Regions from separate parts of the Homo sapiens genome. Here all the other regions are linked to region 4. The links are contacts of gene promoters, found by promoter capture Hi-C in blood cells and fetal thymus (Javierre and others, 2016). All regions are on one chromosome and are shown on one strand. Each heading gives the region's core, a stretch centred on a gene start or on the middle of the fragment in contact. The rest is flanking DNA. Distances are from core to core; before and after follow the strand shown. Region 1 overlaps RAD23B (RAD23 nucleotide excision repair protein B). Region 2 has its middle 8.5 kb from the start of LINC01509. Region 3 holds the start of LOC124902241 (a long non-coding RNA gene). Region 4 holds the start of CTNNAL1 (catenin alpha like 1).

Region 1 (5,468 bases), core at 628-3,127, 1.7 Mb after region 4:
GGTGTTTAATAGCTAAAAACCCCCAAATATCACAAACAGATTAAGCATTTGATATCTTGCTTAAAATAATGACTTTCCTTTTCCCATCCCATAAAACAATAAATTTTAATTATTTATTTTCTTATCTACTGATATAATTCGAGCACAAAGCAACTCAAGTAGCAATACATGTTCAGTAACCTAATTCCCAGATACAGAAATCAGTATCAATACAAACGAAATTACGAGCTACAAAAAATCAGAACTGCACTATTTTAACATGGTGTTTCTCATTTAGTTCTCTCTCACTACTTCATAAGAAAGGTTTAATTTCAACTCCTTTAAAAGATGAGGAGGGTACAGCTTGGAGAGATTAATAATTTGGTAAAGACTAGGTATGGTGGCTCACGCCTGTAATCCCAGCACTTGGGAGGCCGAGGCGGGCAGATCACGAGATCAGGAGATCGAGACCATCCTGGCCAACATGGTGAAACCCCGCCTCTACTAAAAATACAAAAAAAATTAGCTGGGCATGGTGGCACGTGCCTGTAGTCCCACCTACTCAGGAGGCTGAGGCAGGAGAATTGCTTGAACCCCGGAGGCGGAGATTGCAGTGAGCCAAGATCACGCCACTGCACTCCAGTCTGGCGACAGAGCAAGACTGTCTCCAAAAAAAAAAAAAATTCGTAAAAGTATTAAGTCATGGTGCAGAGATACAAACACAGGCTGACAGTCAAGAGTCTCCACACCTAATCATTACACTATGACTCCTAAAATCATGTTTCCTAGTTAAATTATACAATCTCAAAAAAATACCCATAAGCAATGTGATACTTTTTAGATCTTAAAAGTCCAAAGGCAAATGACTTGTAAAAAGAACTAGAGAGGCCAGCACAGTGGCTCGCACCTGTAATCCCAGCACTCTGGGAGGCCGAGGCAGGCGGATCACCTAAGATCAGGAGTTCGAGACCAGCCTGGCCAACATGGTGAAACCCCGTATCTACTAAAAATACAAAAATTATCTGGGCATGGTGGCAGGCGCCTGTAATCCCAGCTACTTGGAAGGCTGAGGCAGGAGAATTTCTTGAACCTAAGAGGCGGAGGTTGCAGTGAGCTGAGACTGTGCCACTGCACTCCAGCCTGGGTGACAAAGAGAGAGAGTCTCAAAAACAAAACAAAACAAAACAAAAAAAACAAAAACGAGAGAGACTGGCCAAGAAACAGAGTAATGAGGCAAAAGAGGTGGTGATGAAGAACCTTATATATGTCATTCAGAATAAGCTTTGATCAATATTGCCTGACTTCAAATAATACTACCAGGCTATTGTAACCAAAACAGCATGGTACTGGTATAAAAACAGACACATCAATCAATGGAACAGAATAGAGAACCCAGAAATAAAGCTGCATACCTACAACCAAAATGATCTTCAACAAAGTCAACAAAAACATACACCGGGGAAAGGACACCCTATTCAACAAATGGTGCTGGGAAATTGGATAGCCATATTTAGAAGAACGAAACTAGACCCAGACTTCTCATCAAACACAAAAGTCAACTCAAAACAGATTAAAGCCTAAATATTAAGACCTGAAACTACAAAAAAACCTAGAAGAAAACCTAGAAAAACTCTTCTGGACACTGGCTTAGGCAATCTAACAAAGTGCTATTATCCAGAACTTTAAAACATCAAGAAAAAAACAAATAACCCCATTAAAAAGTGGGCAAAAAACATGACTGGCAAAAAACATTCTTCAAAAGAAGACAGACAAGTGGCCAACAAACATGAAAAAATGCTCAACATCACCAATCATCAGAGAAATGCAAATTAAAACCACAATGAGATGCCCCATCTTATACCAGATGTTGGGCAAGGATGTGGAGAAAATAGAATGCTTATACACTGCTGGCGGAAATGTCCATTAGTACATCCTTTATGGAAAACAGTACGGAAATTTCTGAAAGAACTTAAAAACAGAACTATCATTTAATCCAGAAATCCCACTACTATGTATATATACCCAAAGGGAAATAAATCATTATATCAAAAAGATACCTGCACTTGTATGTTAATCACAACATTATTCACAATAGTAAAGATATGGAATCATCAATGGAGGATGAGATAAAGAAAATGTGGTGTGTGTGTGTAATAATACTCACCCATCAAAAAGAATAAAACCATGTCTTTTTTACAGCAACATGGATAGAACTACAGAGGCCACTATCCTAAATGAAATAACTCAGTAACAGTCAAATACCCCATGTCCTCACAAGTGGGAGCTGAACAATAGGCACACATCATATAGAGTGGAATAACAGACACTGGAAACTACAAAAAAGGTGGGGAGTGGAGTGTGGGTTCAAAAACTTCCTGTTTGGTACAATGTTCATTATTCAGGTGATGGCTACACTAAAAGCCCAAACTTCACCACCACATAATATATGCATGTAAGAAATCTGCACTTGTACTCCCTATATACAAATTTTAAAAATTAAAAAGAATAAGCTTTGGACTTATCTTCCAGGTCATGAGGAACTATTAAAAGAATTAACAAAGACCCCATGAGAGTTGCTTTCCACTCTGGTAAGGAAGAGGCAGACCAGGTGGATAAGGATAATGCAAGAGTACAAGTGAAATAAGGACCTGAACTAAGGCAACTAAATGACAGTGAAAACAAATATTCCAGAGACTTTAAGAAACAGAGTCATTAGTAACTGTGGAATGAGGGGAAGAAAGGGAAGGAGGAAGGAAGGAGAAAGGAAGGAAGGAGGAAGGAAGGAGAAAGGAAAGGAGAAAGGAGAGAGGACAGAGGAGAGAGGAGAAAGGAAAAGAAAAGAAACAGACTTACTGGGCCAAAAGAGGCAGAGGGTGGATGAATGAATGATGGTACAAGTAAGAAGTGAACAAGAAAAGAATCAGACTGGGGAATAAAAAATGAGTCAGTTTGAAACCTGAAGTCATGGAGGTTCTAAAGTTTTCTAGTTGACAATGTGAAGATACGAGTTTGGGAGTTCAGAGGGAGATCTGTACTGCAGCTGTAATTTGGGGAATCTATATAGTATATGGATGGTATTGGTCATTCCCATAATTTAAACTTTGAACTATGACCTAGAATGGAACCATAGAAAACTCATACATTTAATAGTCAGGTAAAATAAAACGAATTAACTGGCCGGGCACTGTGGTTCACGCCTGTAACCCCAGCACTTTGGAGGCCGAGGCGGGCAGATCACAAGGTCAGGAGATTGAGACCATCCTGGCTAGCAGGGTGAAACCCCATCTCTACTAAAAATACACAAAATTAGTCGGGCGTGGTGGCACGTGCCTGTAATCCCAGCTACTCAGGAGGCTGAGGCGGGAGAATCGCTTAAACCTGGGAGGTGGAGGTTGCAGTGAGCTGAGATCATGCCACTGCACTCCAGCCTGGGCGACAGAGTGAGACTACGAAAGGAAAAGGAAAGGAAGAAAGAAAAGAGAAAAGAAAATAAAGGAAAAAAGAAAAGAATTAACTAGAAAGCTTGAGAAGGAAGAGCCTGAGGTATGGATCAGGAAAAGAGTGGTGTCACAGCAGCCAAAGAAGGAAAGTTTAAAGAAGCAAGGTTAATTTGTACAGCAACAAGATAAATCAGAAAAATAAAATAAAATAAAAAAGCAGGGAATCAACATAGAGACTTGGGTAAATTAAAGATGAAAATGTAGAGGGATCCCGAGACCATAAAGCTGAGAATGGGAAGACATCGTCACAGAGGCTTGAGTAGCAGCAGCTACAGCATGGCCTCCCAGGCTCCCGGGAACTCAGGAGCATCAATGCATTCCAGCTGCAGCAGCAGTGACCACAGCCAGAGCCTTCAACACCATCAGGGGCAAGTGCTAGCTGGCTCCAGCTGGAGCCGAGGCCACAGACAGTTTACTGCCTCTCTGGGTAATCCTATTTTCCAGCCCTTCCAATTCCTAACAATTTCCTAAGATTAAGCCTTTCCCTCTTTGAAATAGAGTGGTTTCTGTTTTCCTGGCTAGAGACTAACTCACACTGTATTTGATAGCAGAGTGGTTTTAGGACACTGCTCCTCAAAGATGAAAATCTGGGGTTGTCACACCCAGGCGATCTTAGATAATTTAAACTGCCGTTTTGCCACTAAATGTACATGCCATTTTCCACAGCAACAAGGGCATCACGGAGTTCCAGTCCAACTAGCTCAGAGAACCAACTCAGATGCTAGGAGGTGGTACTGCTGCTGGAACCCTGCTGCTGTAGAAGCTAAGCAGGAATCCAGAAGCCTGTACTGCACCAAAGCTGCTGTTTCTACCTATTCCTCGCTTTCTCCCTCCCTGCCATTTAAAAGTAACAAACTAGGAATGGAGTTGCCAGCCAATAAACCAGTAATTAGCAGGAACTGTATCAGAGATGCTACAATGGGAGAAAAAAAATGCTGCTTCATTTTGACAGATTGGGGTGATGGGAGATGGAAAGGCATTATTCAGTAGGTAAAATTAAAAGTTGGGATAAAAAGGCATTTTTGCTGCAAGCCAATGCAAGCAACAAGATGTAGATGGGAATGTATAGTGCCATCAAGTTGAATTAAGTCTAATGGTGAATACACATGAAGTGTGAGGCAGATCTTAGAAAAATTTCATACCCATTTCAAAGACCCTTTGTAATAAATCCATACACAGATCAACCATGTTAGGATCACATTTAAAATTCACATCCGGAAAATGGAAATTTATTTGCTTTAACCAAGTAGGCTCAACTCAGAGCAAGTTTTAAAGAACTCAATACATAAACATTAAAAGTCTTTAGTAACACTATTAATTGAATAATTACCTAAATCAATCATCTTACAGCTTGATTATAAACAACCATGCAAATTATTAACACTTTTATCATGATCTAGAAAAGTGAAACCTCTTTCCTATCTCTTTATAGGTTATTTATAAGGAAAAGCAGATACTTACCAAGTGCACTCGTTGCATCTTCAAAAAGGTTTGACCGAGAAGAATCACCCGATGTACTACAAAAGGATTTTAGAAAAATCACATTTTAAAAAGTATATAAAATTTAATTTACATTAGTTTAGTAACTATCCAATTGGTAAACAGATTCTTTGATTTTAATTAAATATAAAAGTCTGACTACAGTATTTAAACTGTCTCTTCTAGATTAAATCCAAAAGCTTTATCTACAACATTTGTGGTTTGGGAAAAATTTTCAATCTTGGTACTCCTTCTATTCTGAGACTCCATCACTTTAAATATCAAAATATATAAAATAATATCCTAACAGCTATCTATTGAATACAAAAAAGATAATGCACAATTATTTACCTGAAATAATTTACATGAGAAGTTAAATAATTTATAAATCAAGTCACACCAGAAGAAATATCAAAAGCAGTATACAAAATAGCACATGGAGAAACCAAATTAGGCTATAAAGTCTTTACATAATGAAGTCTTATAGGTAAGTTCTGAATGAGGACACTG
Region 2 (5,838 bases), core at 886-3,385, 1.5 Mb after region 4:
CCCAGGCTGGTCTCTTAACTCCTGGCCTCAAACGATCCTCCTGCTTTGGCCTCCCAAAGTACTGGGATTACAGGTGTGAGCCACTGCACCCAGTCTATTATAAGGTCTTATGGGTCTGGCTTCCCCTAAAGACATGAGCTTCTGGAGGGCACTAGGAGGTTTCTTGATGTGTCCTTGAATACCCTCAGTTACTAAACTTAATTGAATAAAAGTAATCATTGACTGAATATTTAGCCAAAATCCTGGGTTATCCAAGGAAAGGATAAAATATCTCCTTTCCCCAAATTTTGGCATCCTGGAGGACAGGCCCAGTGGTCTCTCAATTGCTTCCTGTAGGTCGCCTGACATCCATCTGCCTTCCTCAACACACAACAAACCCCTCAAATGAACAAAACTCTTTCCAGAGTCAATCCCACACTTTGGGAGGCCGAAGTGGGTGGATCACTTGAGATCAGGAGTTCTAGACCAGCGTGGCCAACATGGTGAAACCCCATCCCTATTGAAAATACAAAAATTAGCCGGGCATGGTGGCCTGCACCTGTAATCCCAGCTACTTAGGAGGCTGAGACAAGAGAATTGCTTGATCCTGGGAGGCAGAGGTTGCAGTCAGCTGAGATCACGCCACTGCACTCCAGCCTGGGTGACAGAGTGAGACTCTGTCTCAAAATCCTGGCATCTCCTTTTTGTGAACTCTTCCTTGCCATGTAATTCTCTGCATTGACTCTGGAAAGAGTTTTGTTCATTTGAGGGGTTTGTTGTGTGTTGGGGAAGACAGATGGATGTCAGGTGACCTACAGGAAGCAATTAAGAGACCACTGGGCATGTCCTCCAGGATGCCAAAATTTGGGGAAAGGAGATTTTTTTTTTTTTGAGACAGAGTCTTGCTCAGTTGCCCAGGCTGGAGTGCAGTGGTGCCATCTCAGCTCACTGCAAGTTCCACCTCCCCGGTTCACGCCATTCTCCTGCCTCAGCCTCCCAAGTATCTGGGACTACAGGCACCTGCCACCATGCCTGGCTAATTTTTTTTGTATTTTTAGTAGAGACGGGGTTTCACCGTGTTAGCCTGGATGGTCTCGATTTCCTGACCTCGTGATCCACCTGCCTCAGCCTCCCAAAGTGCTGGGATTACAGGCATGAGCCACTGCACCCAGCAGGGAAAGGAGATATTTTATCCTTTTTTTGGATGACCCATTGGGCCTCCTTTCAAGAAAAAAGGTATGTGTACCATGGACATATGACAAATAATGAAGGCTAAAAAAAAAAAGAAAAAAATTGCACTTTAAAAGCTTAGGCCAGGCACGGTGGCTCACGCCTGTAATCCCAGCACTTTGGGAGGCCGAGGCAGGTGAATCACTTGAGGTCAGGAGTTCAAGACCAGGCTGACCAACATGGTGAAACCCCATCTCTACTAAAAATACAAAAATCACCTGGGCGTGGTGGTGGGCACCTGTAATCCCAGCTACTCAGGAGGCTGAGTCAGGAGACTCGCTTGAAACCGGGAGGCGGAGGTTGCAGTGAGCCAAGATCGTGCCACTGCACTGCAGCCTGGGCAACAGAGCGAGACTCCATCTCAAAAAAATAATAATAAAATAAAATAAAAGCTAAAAGAGGGTACTTTCCTGACCTCATGATCCACCCGCCTCGGCCTCCCAAAGTGCTGCGATTATAGGCGTGAGCCACCATACCAGCTAAAAGAGGGTACTTTCTACTCTAGGATATTGAGTGGGCCAGTCTGCCCAAACAGGAAGGTTTAGCTTTGGGTGCTGTGAAACCCTCCCATTTGGTTTGCTCCAATTCAAGCTTGAGACTCTTCTAGTTTGCCTGGATGACAGTAGTTTTCTGACCTCTGAATACATCTAAATAAACTCACTCTGACAGTGCGCGGAATTGACCATTGCCCTGCCTTTGAGGCACTGTTACCGCCTCACCTAGGAATGGGTAACATTGCAAGGACTGAAGCTGTAAAATTACGTAGGTAGCTCACAACTATAATGCCAATACTTTGGGAGGCAGAGGTGGGAGGATCACTTGAAACCAGGAGTTCAAAACCATCCTGGTCAATATAGGGAGACTCTGTCTCTCCAAAAAATAAAAAATAAAATAAAAAAATAACAAAATTAGCCAGGAGTGGTGGCATGTTCCTGTGGTTCTGGCTCCTCAAGAGGCTGAGGTGGGAAGATCCCTTGAGCCCAGGAGGCTGAGGCTGCAGTGAGCTATGATTGTTTTACTGCACTCCAACCTGGGTGACAGAGCAAGACCCTGTCTCAAAAATAAAATAAAATTACGTAAGACGTTTGAAAAGGAAAGCATCTTCAAGACCATTTAACTCAAGGAAAAGACCCAGATAAAGGACTTGTGACCTTGCCCAAGGTCACATCAAGTTGACATCTGAGGAACCAGCACCTAGATCTGATTTACTTAACAGGCCAATCATCCATGGCTTCATCCTAACAGCCCAAGGGAAGCTTAGAGGAATCAAGATGATCAAAAACATCTTGCTGGCTGGGTGTGGTGGCTCATGCCTGTAAGCCCAACACTTTGGGAGGCCAAGGTGGGTGGATCACTTCAGATCAGGAGTTCCAGACCGGCGTGGCCAACATGGCGAAGCCCTATCTCTATTGAAAATACAAAAATTAGCCGGGCATGGTGTCGTGCACCAGTAATCCCAGCTACTTAGGAGGCTGAGGCAAGATAATTGCTTGAACCTGGGAGGCAGAGGTTGCAGTGAGCTGAGATCATGCCACTGCACTCCAGCCTGGGTGACAGAGTGAGACTGTCTCAAAAACAAAACAAAACCAACCAACCAACCAAACAAAAAACACCATGCTCACCTCGGCAGCACATATCCTAAAATTGGAAAAATACAGAGATTAGCATGGCCCCTGCGCAAGGATGACATGCAAATTCGTGAAGTGTTCCATATTTTTCTGTTCTTGCACAGGCTCTTAAGCAACATGGAAATAAGGTTGATGGAAAATAAACATCAGTTTCTAAACAAACAAACAAAGAAACAACAACAAAACAAAAAACACCATGCAGAAAAGATGGCTTTCAGAGGAAAGTTCTGTTTTTTTGTTTTTTTTCCTTTTTTTGAGATGGGGGATGAGGTCTCACCCTGTCACCCAGGCTGAGTGGTGCAATCACAGCACACTGCAGCCTCAACCGCCTGGGCTCAAGAGATTCTCCCTCTCAGCCCCCCAAGTAGCTGAGACCACAGACATGCACCACCATACCTGGCTAATTTTTTTAAAAAATTATTTTGTAGAGACAAGGGTATCCCTATGTTGCCCAGGCTGGTCTCTAACTCCTGGGCTTAAGGGCCTCGACCTCTCAAAGTGCTAGGATTACAGGCATGAGCCACAGTGCCTGGCCCTGGAAAGTTCTAAATTCAATGTAATGTTGTGCTCTAACATCCAAAAAAGTATTTTACTGTGCTTTATCATCCTTCTGTATAGTGCTCTGTTACCGGCCAGCTAGGACAGGACTACTCACTGGTCACTGTGTTCCCTCTAGAGAGAACATAGGAACCATTCCCTCAAAATGTGATAGTATCATTCTGGCTTTGTTCCACTTTCTCTTTCCATGCAATTGATTCAAACACATGTAATCAATTCAAGGATCTACTTTACTAGCCACTGTGCAAAGGGCAGGAGAAGCAAAGATGAGTAAGAATCTGTAAATATGGCCAGTCGCAGTGGCTCACACCTGTAATCCCAGCGCTTTGGGAGGCCGAGGCGGGTGGATCACCTGAGGTCAGAGGTTCGAGACCAGCCTGGTCAACATGATGAGACCCTATCTGTACTTAAAATACAAAAATGAGCTGAGTGTGGTGGTGGGCACCTGTAATCGCAGCTACTTGGGAGGCCGAGGCAGGAGAATCACTTGAACCCAGAAAGTAGAGGTTGCAGTGAGCTGAGATCATGCCACTGCACTCCAGCCTGGGTGACAGAGTGAGACTCAGTCTCAAAAAAAAAAAAAAAAAAGAATACGCAGGTTTACAGATACTGTTTCCTCCTGCAACTGCTCTGCAAAGGGCATAAAGTGTAAGTTAAATGAAAATCAGCTTTCTAGCCCCAGTAAAAAAATTGTTACCTTTCTTAAAAAAGTGATACATGATTCTTTGCAAGACTCAACCATGTTAACTACAACCACATATACCATTCTCCCCCCTACAATTTTCTTGATTGCTTCTTCTTCTTCTTCTTATTTTGAGACTTTGTCTTGCTCTGTTGCCCAAGCTGGATTGTAGTGGCGCAATCGCAGCTCACTCCTACCTCTGCCTCCTGGGTTCAAGCAATTCTCTGCCTCCACCTCCCGAGTAGCTGGGATTAGAGGTGCCCACCACGGCCAGCTAATTTTTTTGTATTTTTCGTAGAGACAGGGTTTCACCATCTTGGCCAGGCTGATCTTGAACTCCTGACCTCATGATCCACCCACCTTGGCCTCCCATAATGCTGGGATTACAGGTGTGAGCCACCGTGCCCGGCCGATTGCTTATTATTTTTTAGATACATTTAACTTGTTTATCGGGTGCATGTTAAGGCATATTAAGATGTGTTTTTCAGATTCAGCATGAAGGTTTTGGCCCTATTCAAAAATATCACAAAATTCTGTTGGAATTAATAATTTGGTCAGAATGGGTCTTAATTTTCAAACCAAGACACCTTGGGTTGCTATGGATTGGAAACTGCATATCTAGACCACGAGAACACGTGATTTTGTTTTAAGCACAATTAACTTTACAGCGAGAGAGCATAACTGACATCACATATAGCTCTCGCTGTGCCAAAGCCCACAGAAAGAGAAGAGGCTTTGCCTAGGGGATTCTTTGCATTAACGACTTTGTTAGACAAAGCCACTCTGGCATGGGAATTGGATTTGCAATTTGGGTCTTTGTAAAAGGATTAGATGATCTCTATTGTTTAATGTTTGGATCTCAATTTGCATTTGGAAACACATGACCCCATTGGAGGTTTAGTTCTCTTTTATTTTCATGTTCTTGTTCTGATACACAAATGATACTATTTGTTAAAAAGTTGATAAAACTGCTTGGTCGAATGGTTGTACTGATTAGGAAGTGTGATACGTTGATCTTCTCTGTGAATGGTGGAGTCTACCTGGGCTCCAGCAAAACCGAGCCAGTAATCTATTTGCCAACTGACAAACAACTCATAGGGTAGAGGTCTGCACGTTTCATTGATTTCCTTAATTAGAATGCATGGCTCTTTGTTAGAGAAAGAAAGCACACAGAGATATGGTCAGACAGTGGATCTGCAGAAGGAATGAAAGAGAAAAGCCTCTGACTGCCTGGGGACATATTTGAACACTCCTGTTCAATGTCTTTGTTTATAAATAAAGGTTTGAGAAAATGTATTTTAGGTTTCAGATAACAATACTCTCAGCTGTACACGATGTTTAACTACTTGTCCTTTGGTAAACTTTTTTTTTTTTTTTATATGGAGTAGGAGTCTTGCTCTGTTGCCCAGGCTGGAGTGCAGTGGCGTGATTTTGACTCACTGCAACCTCCGCCTCCCGGGTTCAAGTGATTCTCCTGCCTCAGCCTCCCGAGTAGCTGGAATTACAGGTGCCCACCACCATGCCTGGCTAATTTTTGTATTTTTAGTAGAGATGAGATTTTGCTATGTTGGTCAGCCTGTTCTCGAACCCCTGACCTCAGATAATCCGCCAGCCTCGGCCTCCCAAAGTGCTGGGATTACAAGGGTGAGCCACCACACCCAGCCCTGATAAACATTTTTTTTTTTTTTGAGGCAGAGTTTTGCTTTTGTTGCCCAGGCTGGAGTGCAATGGTGCAATCTCGGCTTACCACAACCTCTGCCT
Region 3 (5,532 bases), core at 374-2,873, 1.7 Mb after region 4:
CGATCTCGGTTAACTGCAACCTCTGCCTCCCGGGTTCAAGTGATTCTCCTGCCTCAGCCTCCCGAGTAGCTGGGATTACAGGCCTGTGCCACCATGCCCGGCTAATTTTGTATTTTTAGTAGAGATGGGGTTTCTCCATGTTGGTCAGGCTGGTCTTCAACTCCTGACCTCAGGTGATCCGCCAGCCTCGGCTTCCCAAAGTGCTGGGATTACAGGCGTGAGCCACCGTGCCCGGACTAGTGTTTTTATGAAAATAATTTTGACGCTTATAATCCCAGCAGTTTTGGGAGGCCAAGGCAGGCAGATCACTTGAGGTCAGGAGTTCAAGGCCAGCCTGATCAACATGGTGGAACCCCATCTCTACTAAAAAAAAAAAAAAAAAAAATTAGCCAGATGTGGTGGCAGGCATCTGTAATTGCAGCTACTTGGGCTATTAAGGCAGGAAAATCACTTGAACCCGGGAGGCAGAGGTTGCCATGAGCCAAGATCATGTCACTGCACTCTAGCCTGGGTGACAGAGCAAGACTCTGACTCAAAAAAAAAAAAAAAAAAAAAAAAAAAGTTTTGATTTCATATAACCATCCCCTGAAAATAGTCCTCATACTGCATGTTAAGAACTGCTGGTCTAGCAATAACCAGGCAAATCACCAGAGGAACAAATAACTGTCAAAACAGCAGAGAGAGAAAGAAATCACAGGCGGGATAGAGACTGGCTCAGGGAATGTGAAGGAGCAGGGGCTATAGGGAGGCAGTGTCACTTAGGGTGACTTCGGAATCAATCAACTTAGGTTTGCCACCTGGCTGTCACTTGGTAGCTGTGTAGCTCTACCCTGACTGACCTCAGTTATCCCATTTGTAAAATTGCAAAAGTGCCTCATACGAGCACTTAGCACAGGGTGAGACACTGGACTTGTAAATGATAGCTCAATTTTCTTGGTCCAGAACATAACTTTATGAAAACAGCAGTATTTGTTTAGTAGGCTGTTTCTGCTTCTATAACATGTGTCAGACATGACCCCCAAAGGCACAGACACCTTGAAAAGTCTGGTGTATTATTAGCACAGTCACTTAGTCTAAGGGCACAGTGTGATGTGGCTGCCAAATCAGCAAGACCAAATTTAGGCTGTATTAATAGAGGTATTATGCACAGAACAAGGGAGGTGAGGGCTCCCCTGTAGTGCCTATTGCTCAGCCCCTCCTGAAGTATCGGGTTCATCTGAATGAAGGACTCAATACACTCGCCCCAACTGAGGGACTCTTTTCAGCTGAAGGCTTGGCCAGAGGGTGGGACACGGTCAGAGAAAACGCAACCACTCTTCTCAAAGACCTAAAGGATTGACACAGGAAAGAGGGGTTACATTGGCTCAGGGTGACCCCCAGAAGTGAACTAGAACCTGAGGATAGCCTGGTTAGAGAGGAAGATCAGAGATCCTAACATAGCGACCCTTCAACCACTGGAGTGTCTGAAATCCAAGAGGCCTGAGCTGGAGGGTGTGTGTGCAGTTATTGGAAGTGTGCATGTGGAGGCTGGAAGTCACGCGTGCGGGAGGCACTGCACTTGATCGTGGGGGTCACCTTCAAACCCTTCCCAATTTTGAGTTCCTGTGCCTCTGGAAGAGCAGCAAGACTGTCAGAGGAAATCAAAAGAAAACATTGAGAAGAGACAGTTCCTCGAGATGGGAAGGAGCAGCAGTGGGCATTCTGTTTGACAGGATTGCTTGGTTCTCTGCCAAATTTGACCTGGAGGTTGGATGCAGCTGCCAATCCTGTGGCCTAGAAACAGACAGGAGAAAACAAGGCATTGCTCAGAAACAGCTCATAAAAATAAAAACTTTCTGTTCCCCAAATGCCAAATGCTTGGGCGGTGCTGCCCAGCTGAGTGGGAAGCGCCCTGGCCGCTTGGGAACGCTGAGCCGATCACAGTGAGGCAGGGAAGGCAATGGCACCCTGAGATCAAAGAGGCTCACCCCACGCTCCTGGAAATAACTCAGCAACACGCTCGTCGTGGGAGAAAGGCAAAGAGAACTTCTCTTCCCAGACGGTCTTTGACTTCAGGGTAGGCAGTTGGCACCCACATCCAAAACCAAACCTGGCCTTTGTAAAGATGTTTTCAATCCACTCTCTCACTTGATCTCCACCAGCAACCTGGGGCAGGCATCCGCAGCTCTATTTTGCAGATGAGAAAACAAGAGCAGAGGTAGACTGATTTGGCTGAGGTCACCCAGCTGATGTGGCTGTGAAGATAACAATTGGGGCCCGACGGACTCCAAGTTCAAACCCAGGCCCTCAGACCTGGCCTCAGCACAGGCTTTCTGGGAGTGCAGCTGTCAGTGTGCTCTCCAACTAAGTCTCAGAATGCATGCCCATCTGGAACTGGTCAGTAGAACCCTGCAGTCTCCACCACCAGCCAGCTCACTGCATTATGTGTCAAGTCTTTCAGAACCTGGTGGAAAAGTCTTTGGAGCTGAGGAAGGAAAAACAGAGCTGCCTTTGAGGCACTGTTCATTGACCATCTTAGGCCACTTTCAGAACCGAAGGGTTCCGGAAAAGGTAAAGAGGAGCTTAGGGCCACAAGAAAGATGACAAAAGGCATCCCAACTATTGTTCATTGTCTGTTTATCCATCCAATGATGCCTCAGCATCTCCTTTGGTCTTTGGTCCAGCCCTTCACCAGGTTCTGGGGATACAGAGATGAAAGGCACAGCCCTGAATTTGAGAGAGCTCACCAGTTTTCTCTCGTTCAGTACCTTCAGTGATACACCAAATGCAGATAATCCCAGTTCAGGGTGTTCACTTTTATGGCAGATACTTAGAAGCAGCTGAGGGAACCCAGAGGAGTTCCTGGCCCAAATTAGAGGGGAAAAGGGGGTCACGGGAAGGCTTCCTGGAAGAGGGGCCATATTTTGTATATAAAAAAAATTAGCAACATAAAGGAGGTGGGAAAAATTCCAAACCACATAGCAATTGCTCCTTGTTCACGGGACGCATGAATCAGAACAGCAACATGCACCAGGACAGAGAGGAGGGCACAATGCCAGGGTGCGGGTTGCACTACCAGCCTAGCCTGTGGGGCTGCTTTTTCCCCTAACCACCAACCCTGTCTCTCACCACAAGCAGCACCTGAAACACACTGGTCCTAAACTCCAAGCAGGTGGTAACCTTCCAGTGGAACAGCAACTAGAGCAGAACAAATAAGGCCCTTCCTTTCCCATGTAGCTGAGCTTTCCTAGAAGCTCCATCATAGGAGTGCTACACTAGGAAATCTAAAGACATTTCACTTCCATTTCCAAGTCCACTTCAAATATGAATGCCTCGGCTGTGCAGGAAAGTGGCCAAGCCGAGTGGCAGCTCAGCACAAGAAAGGGAGCAGAGTGCTGCTGGGCGCTGGTTACCTTCAGGGAAGGTGAAATTATACTGAGGATAATGGGAGCCAAGTTTCTCACTGCCCTGGAAGGAGTCTGAAATATGGGAAGGGAGAAGATAGAATGAAGCTTATGGCATTTTTATTTTTTGAAACAGGGTCTCCCCGTCACCCAGGCTGGAGTGCAGTGCCGTGATCTCGGCTCACTGGAGCCTCAACCTCCTGGGCTCAAGCGATCCTCCCACCTCAGCACCCCCAAGTAGTTGGGACCACAGGCATGCACCACCATACCTGGCTAATTTTTGTATTTTTCGTAGAGACAGGGTTTCACCAAGTTGCCCAGGCTGGCCTTGAACTCCTGGACTCCAGCGATCCGCCCACCTTGGCTTCCCAAAGTGCTGGGATTACAGGCTTCAGCCACCGCGCCCAGCCTGAACCTTATGGCATTGGATCAGAATTAATGGTACCAGAGTGAACTCCCTTTTCAGTGTCTATGTATCAAATGTAAATGTAAGGATGTATTTACTGTGTGGACACACTTAGACGGCTTGGGAGCAGTGAGACTCTAATAGCAGTGAGCACGCCTAGAGCAAGGGTTTGCTTTCTAAATACAGTCTACATTAAGGGGAGCTAGAGCTCCTTGATAAATAGCCGATTCCAGGACTAGGGCACAGGAAATGCAAGAGCCTGGAATACATTACTGTGCCAGAAAGTAGGGAAGTACTCAGAGGGTAATGGCATGTCGAAACACAGAAGCCAGCTTTAAGAAAACACACAATCAGCCAGGTGCAGTGGGCTCACGCCTGTAATCCCAGCACTTTGGGAGGCCGAGGCAGGCGGATCATTTGAGCTCAGGAGTTCGGGACCAGCCTGGCCAATATGGTGAAACCCTGTCTCTACTAAAAAAAAGAAAACACACAATCACAGAACTCGGGACAATTCCAACATCAAAGTAATGATGGTAAGGGATTATGTACCATCGAATAAAATAGGAATCAAAGACCATACAGATACGACTAATAAATGGGGGGAAAAAGAGTAAGAATACAGGACAATGTTAACTAATAAAGTAGAAGGAATTTGAAAATCACCACTTGGAAACCATTACAGTAGGCAAGAAACAATAATACTAAAAAGAATGGGCCAAACTTTGATGAGAAATAGGATATTTACGAAGGCTCAAAATATCTCCCTATAAAATATTTATCCAATACAAAGGGACAAAGAGTAACTTTCCAGGGGAGACTGGCTGACACCACCTGCCTCAGGGTCCAAGTGACCACCACCAATGATGGGACAAATTGACACCCTGTGTCACCTTATGGGGTGCAGCTAGAAGGGCACAACAGCACTTCTGTTTCCTCCAAACACGCATACCAAGGGTAGTAATGAGGAAACACCAAACATACATTGAGGGACATTTTATAAGACAACTATCCTACAGTCTTCAAAAAATGTTAAGGTCATAAAGATCAAGGAGGGAGAGGGACTGAGAAAGTGAACTGGAGATTCATTAAACGCAGTTAAACACAGTGTGTTAACCTGGATCAGGCCCTTTTGCTTGGAGGACAATGTTGGTACAAGTGTAAAATTTTATAAGGTTCTCTAAGGTGGTGGTGGGGTATGTGGGAGCTCTGGTGCTGCTCCTGCAACTTTTTCTGCAAGTGTGAAATTGTGTAAGTATGAAGAAACTGCCAGTGCTCTTTGCAAAAATGCAAATATGGTATAAAAATTATAAAACCATCTTGAATTACAACACTTAAAGATATGACTGAAAATATTTTACAATTAAGTAGTAACAAACTGGTTAAAAAGCAGTTTAACTTTGCAAGTTCCTTAGAATCGAAGACAATATAAAAATTATAGTCAAAATGCTGTTAAGCAGAAGCAGACCTAATTGACAGCTCCCTATACAAAAAATAACAACAAAAAAACGCCTACAATGAACTTAAATGTTAAGCTGCAAGAATCACTCCAGGGTCCATAAAATCATTCAATAAACAAAAAACTGAACCCTCAAGCTGTTCTAAGACATAGTCCCACCACCAAATATTCTCAACAAAATTTCAATGAATTTTGAAGCAATATTATTGTGCTCAAATCTGCTATTGTGTGCAAACAAAACCCATATGGCTTGTACAATTGTGCAGCCAAACAAAAGCAGTTTTAAA
Region 4 (5,418 bases), core at 290-2,789:
ATTGTGTACACTGAATTCTTAGGAGATACTGTCAACTTCGTAAGGGAAGGTGTGTCCAGGAAGTGGACACTGGGCGCCTTAAAGAGGTCAAGGGCCCTCAGTGCACAGGGGAAGGTGGCCTTGTGATAGGTAAGGAAGTGGTGAGATGGTTGGCTGAGAAGAATTGGAAGAAAAAGTTGGATTGAGGACCTGTCCTTTTTGAATGAAGAAAAAGAAGCTGAAGCTTGGCTATCTTCAATACCAAAGACAGCTGTGCAGCACTGGTAGATTGATGAAGCTGAAGCTACAGGTTGAAGCACTGTGAAGCGCCTTTCAACGGTGCTTGGGAAAGAGCTTTCTTATGCCTCAGGTTGATGTACCCAGCTCATCAATCTGGTGTTATGGAAGAAGAAATGATCCAGGCCAAGGTGTCCGGGTGGACTGGCCAGCCTCAGATTCTTTTTTACTCTGACAGGTTCTCACTGGCAGATATGGTAGTTGACAAAACATTTTTTCATGCTTCTCAGTCTGTTGCTTAAGTCTGGAATTCCTTCACGGCGTGCATACTGCTGACAACCTCCTTTTGGCCTTGCTCCTGGAGACCTTAGAATAGGAGTCTTCAGCTCCCCGCCCCCATCGTGGGGCTCTGTGCGAGCTCAGAGTTGTGCTTACAGAACTGATTCTTACCCTTCCCCTCAAGTGAGTTGTCAGAAATACACACTTGGTGTTTTCATGCAATGAACAGTTATGAAGAAACTGCTCTGTGCCTGGCACTAGGAAAAAACTTCGAAAAATAGTTTTAAGAAGTAGTGTTGAACAGTAGATGAGGCTTTTTCATGTTTCTTTTAAATTTCTTTTGAATAAGTCTAAACAGTAGTGTGAAAGATATACTGACTTCCTGCCGAATACCCAGATACTCCATTAATGATTGCATTATCAAATGTTTCCCCTTCAATCCAGCTCAAAGTGTTTGTGAGAAATACATGGTGAAAGAATGAGCAGGGTGGAGTGGAAATTGGACCTTCCGGAGAAGCCCCAGGAAGACATTACCACTGGAATTCCCGTCCCAGGGGAAAGGCCCCTCCCAACAGACTTGATTCTGGTTTTGGTCTACCAGTTTCAACCCCAGCACAGCTTCCAGAAGTCTTTGCGGGAATTCAGAGCTGATTTAGGACGAGTCACCTATCGAGAGGACGGGAAGCTTTGCTGGGGACGCTTGTCTGTCCAAGTAAGAGGAGGCCATGTGGCTGTGTGACAGATGTGTTTTGTTTCTCCTCGCCACCCTGGCGAGAAGGTGCCTGGAACCCATGGAAGGGGTCTGAGAAGAGATAAGGGCGGGGCCATGTGGGGGCGGGACCCGGCTTAGGGGGTGGGGTTGCAGGGAGCCCACACCAGGCTGGACTGCGCGGGCGGGGCAGAGGCCGGGGGTGGGCGGGGACATACGGTGACGGGCGTCGGGGACGCAGGGTTGGCGGCGGAGCCCTGGGGGGGCGGGCCCCTGGGGGCGGGGTCTCGGTTGGCGCGAGTGTCCTGTCGCCGCCGCCTCGGGCGGGTGGGCTGACTGGCGGCAGGCTCGCCGCGGCGCGGAGTCCCGGCTGCGGGATAGACCGAGGGCCATGGCCGCCTCTCCCGGACCCGCCGGCGTTGGCGGCGCCGGAGCAGTCTACGGCTCCGGCTCTTCGGGCTTCGCCCTCGACTCGGGACTGGAGATCAAAACTCGCTCGGTGGAGCAGACGCTACTCCCGCTGGTTTCTCAGGTAAAGTGGCGCCTGGCGCGGCCCCTCTTCTCCTTCCCGCCGCGGCCCGCGATGGCGGCCGCCGCTCGCACGACCGGACGGGAGGCAGCCGCTGCCCCACTTTCCGCGCCGGCACTGCGGCGTTCTTGTCGGACCGCCTGTGTGGGGCTCCGGGACGGGCCTCGGCCCGGGCGGCGAGAGACTGGATAATCCAAACTCCGGCGGCAGGGTTGAGTGGACTCGGCAGCAGGGGAGGCTGCGGGGCGGGGGTGCCGGCCTGGGCCTTTGCCCCCAGTACCTGCCTCGGGTCTGCGGCTCCCGGGTGCCCCCGGCCGGGCGATGCCCCCTCCGCGGGGCGAGTGGTTGAGCCCAGCTCCCGAGGCAGAGAGGACCCCCGCGGGGCCCCTCGCTGGTACTTAGGGCCCTCCACGATAACCGACTTTGTCACCAGTTCGCAGCCTGGTCCCGAGCCCGGCTCCTCCGCCTGGGGTATTCCTCCCGGCCTCCCCGCCCAGCGTGCGCTCCCTGATCCTTTGTCCCTCCCCGCCGTAGGTCAGTTCGCTGGCCTCCCATTCATCCCGGCCACCCTACCCCTTCCCCTGAACCTGCTGCTGCTCACTTCTGCCCGCTTCTGTCCGGCCTCGTGGAAGAGTGACGTGGAGACTGTATGACAGTTAATCCAGATGCACACCGTTTTGCCAAGTCCCGTTTGGGATGTGTGCGTTACTGTATTTGCCAATCAGCTAACCGACGCCCTGAGTTTTAGGAAAGTTTTTGTTTCTCTGAGCTGGGTTATATGCAGCTTCAGGGCTAGAATTCCTCACTTAGGTCTGTGGTAAGATGCCAAGCACTGTGGGGAGTGAATTCTGTGCCTTCGGGAGCGCGTTGGCGATGTGTGACTCACATCTAGGTTGTAACCACTTCGTGACTCATACTAGGATTACCAAGATTTTAGAGGTAGAAGAAATCTTAAAGATTATCTGACTAAAAATTCTTTCTTTAGCATCCTTGACACCTGGCCACCAGTACCCTGCTTAAACATGTTCAGTGAAGGGGAGCCTGTAGCTGTTGCATAGAATTCTAAATGCTATTATCTCTTCTCCTGCCCAGCCCTGCGCATATTTGAAAACAGCAGTTACACATGTCCCTGGATTCCTGTTATGCTGGTTAAATAAACATCCCTATTTTCTTCACCTTCGCATGGCTAACGGAGCAGTGATGAATATATCTGACACTCTCCTTCCCTTTTCCTGTGTCTCATTGAGGCTCTGACCAGTGGGAAGGGGCACTGGGATCCCTCAGTAATGTCAGACCCTCCGCTCCTCGCCTATCTCCACTAGCACAACACAACCAAAACGAGAAACACTGGAGCAGTTTTAAGAGGCAGAGAGATAAGAGAGTGATGGAGTTCAAGTTGATAGTATTTTATCCATTTTTTAAATAACACCTATGTAATGCTTACTATGTGGTAGGCCAGGTTCTAAGCACTTTGTAAATATTAACTCATTAATTCTCATAACAATCATGTGAAGTTGGTATATATTCTCGTGGTATGGGAGAGGAAACTGAGGAATACTGAGGTTAAATAATTTGTTGTTAGGGCTTTCAATAAGTGCCAAACTGGGATTTGAATCCAGGTACCCTGGCTCCAGAAGGTTCTCTTTGCTACACTATGCTGTGTCCTCTCTAGAGATTAGAAGCAGTAATGAGATCTAGAGAAAAAGATGGTACATAGTGGAAAAACAAGCTAGAAAGTCATAATCTGGAGAAATGGCAACTTTTCACAGTATCCACTGCTAAAAATGTATCAGTCTTACAGCTCTGCATTGTGTAACTCTGGGGTAAAAGAAGCCAGAGAAGGGTAGGAGAGCAGAGGAAGAAAAGTATAAATCACTGCTGAGAGTTAGAGGTCAATGCCAAAGGGGAAGAATGCCTGCCTTTTTTTTTTTTTCTTTTTCCAGTTAAAGCCTTGTTCAGGGTCACAGCTGAGGTTTTGCATCCCACACATTGTGTATCTACAGCTACATCTCTACCACAACACCATAACTGATATTCCTCATAATTGACTGTCCTTAACAAGAAAAAGTTAAAATCAAGAAGTGTATTAAGCATGGCCAGAATACTCGGTTAACAAAGCAGGGAAGTACAATTTAGAATGATTTTAAAGTTTCAGTGTTAGGAGATTAAAACAGCAGTTCTCCAGAAAACTCATATGTCCACAAGTCTCATTTTCTGAGAATGCTGTATTATTACCCAACTCATGTTTCACCATCTCATCCACAAGGATATTTTAAGCATTTTAAGCAAGGATTTATTGTGTGCTTATTTGTTGCTGTTTTTTGAGGGGCTTATATTCTAGTTGGTAGATAGGTCATGTATAGAACAGCACATGCAAAGTGTCAAATGAACATCATCAATGGTACATACTCTAAAAGCTCAGAGAAGGCATGGATGAGTCAGCAGTGATGTCATGGAGGAGGCAGGGTTTTGAGGTAAACAAGTAGGACTGGCACTATACGGTTTAAAGTAGACAGTTTCTATTCTGGTATCATCTAGCTTCTTCTGACTCTCCAAGTGAAAAGTCCTGGGTTACTGGCCTTATTCTAAGAATGCAAGATTTTATCAATATTAGAAAAATGTGTATAGTTTTTTTTGCATTCACAGATTATAAAAGATGTATTTTCCTAACAATGATGCAGAAAAAGCATTCAACTAAATTCAGCTTCTAATAATGATAAGAAGCACTTAGGGAACTAGTGTTAGGAAAAAGTGTCCTTAACCTGATAGAGTATCTACAGAAAACTTTTACTTAACATCATAGCAACAGTCAAATTTAAAATAAACATTTCCTTTAAAGCCAGAAACCAGAGTGGGGTGCCTGCTATGCTTCTACTCAGCACTGCACTGGAAATTCTAGCCAGTGTAATATGACAAGGAGAAGAAATAAAAGGAATAAATATAGGAAAGGAAAAACCAAAAGTCTCAGTGTGATATAATAACCTATGCAGAAAACTCAAAACAGTCTACAAGTAAATTATAAAAATTAGGAGTGTTGGCAAGTTCACTGAGTGTAGGATACTAAAATCAATTGCATTTTTCTACATTGATAACAAACAAGGCACAGGCGCACTGGCTGGTGCCTGTAATCCCAGCTACTCTAGTCTCAGCTATTCAGGAGGCTAAAAAATGGGAGGATGGCTTGAGCCCAGCAGCTGAGGGCTGCAGTTAGCTGTGATCACGCCACTGTGCTCCAGCCTGGCCAACAAGGACCCTGTCTTTAAAAAATAATAAAAAAAAATAGAAAAAGTAATTATTAAAAAAATCCAGTTATATTAACAGTAACAGCAAAATATGAGCTTCCTAAGAATATGTTGCTTTTGCTATGTATATAAAGAGAAAGAGCTCTATCTCTATGTATACACAGCAAAAGTGGTCAAACTTCATGGAGAAAATTTAAAAATTTTATCAAAAGCCAACATGGATCTAAATAAATGGGAGAAAAGTACTGTGTTCAAGCCTAGGTTGACATATTATAGACATATCAGTTATCCCTATTGGTCAATTTAATGCAATTTCCATGAAAATTTCAGCAAGATTTTTCAGTAGAACTTGATAAAAGTAATTCTGAAGTTTATATGAAAGCACAAAGGGCCAAGATTAGGCAGAAGAGAAACAAGGTGGATGGACTTGCTCTGCCAGATTT

What was found. The method cuts DNA at HindIII sites, captures the fragments that hold promoters and counts their contacts. A CHiCAGO score of 5 or more calls a contact.
Region 1: a contact is called between a fragment that was not itself captured here and the fragment with the promoter of CTNNAL1 in region 4, in 2 of 17 cell types (monocytes and total CD4 T cells). The highest score is 5.9, in monocytes.
Region 2: a fragment that was not itself captured here is called in contact with the fragment with the promoter of CTNNAL1 in region 4 in 1 of 17 cell types (neutrophils); the score reaches 6.0 in neutrophils.
Region 3: a contact is called between a fragment that was not itself captured here and the fragment with the promoter of CTNNAL1 in region 4, in 2 of 17 cell types (fetal thymus and M0 macrophages). The highest score is 7.1, in fetal thymus.

What each region holds. Positions count from the first base shown.
Region 1 is chr9:107,311,210-107,316,677 of GRCh38, reverse strand. It overlaps RAD23B (RAD23 nucleotide excision repair protein B), which reads right to left. Exons shown (of 10, transcript NM_002874.5): 5 at 4,941-4,996. Among named protein-coding and RNA genes, the nearest start is that of RAD23B, 31 kb to the right of the region's middle. The HindIII fragment of the contact is 1,229 bases long and covers 1,263-2,491 here.
Region 2 is chr9:107,472,125-107,477,962 of GRCh38, reverse strand. It overlaps the pseudogene RNU6-492P. Among named protein-coding and RNA genes, the nearest start is that of LINC01509, 8.5 kb to the right of the region's middle. The HindIII fragment of the contact is 665 bases long and covers 1,803-2,467 here.
Region 3 is chr9:107,334,704-107,340,235 of GRCh38, reverse strand. It overlaps LOC124902241 (a long non-coding RNA gene), which reads right to left and starts at 29. Exons shown (of 2, transcript XR_007061717.1): 1 at 1-29. The HindIII fragment of the contact is 3,740 bases long and covers 1-3,493 here.
Region 4 is chr9:109,009,620-109,015,037 of GRCh38, reverse strand. It overlaps CTNNAL1 (catenin alpha like 1), which reads left to right and starts at 1,539. Exons shown (of 19, transcript NM_003798.4): 1 at 1,539-1,736. The coding sequence starts at 1,596. RefSeq lists a silencer at 1,297-2,186 and an enhancer at 1,848-2,351. The HindIII fragment of the contact is 6,099 bases long and covers 1,183-5,418 here.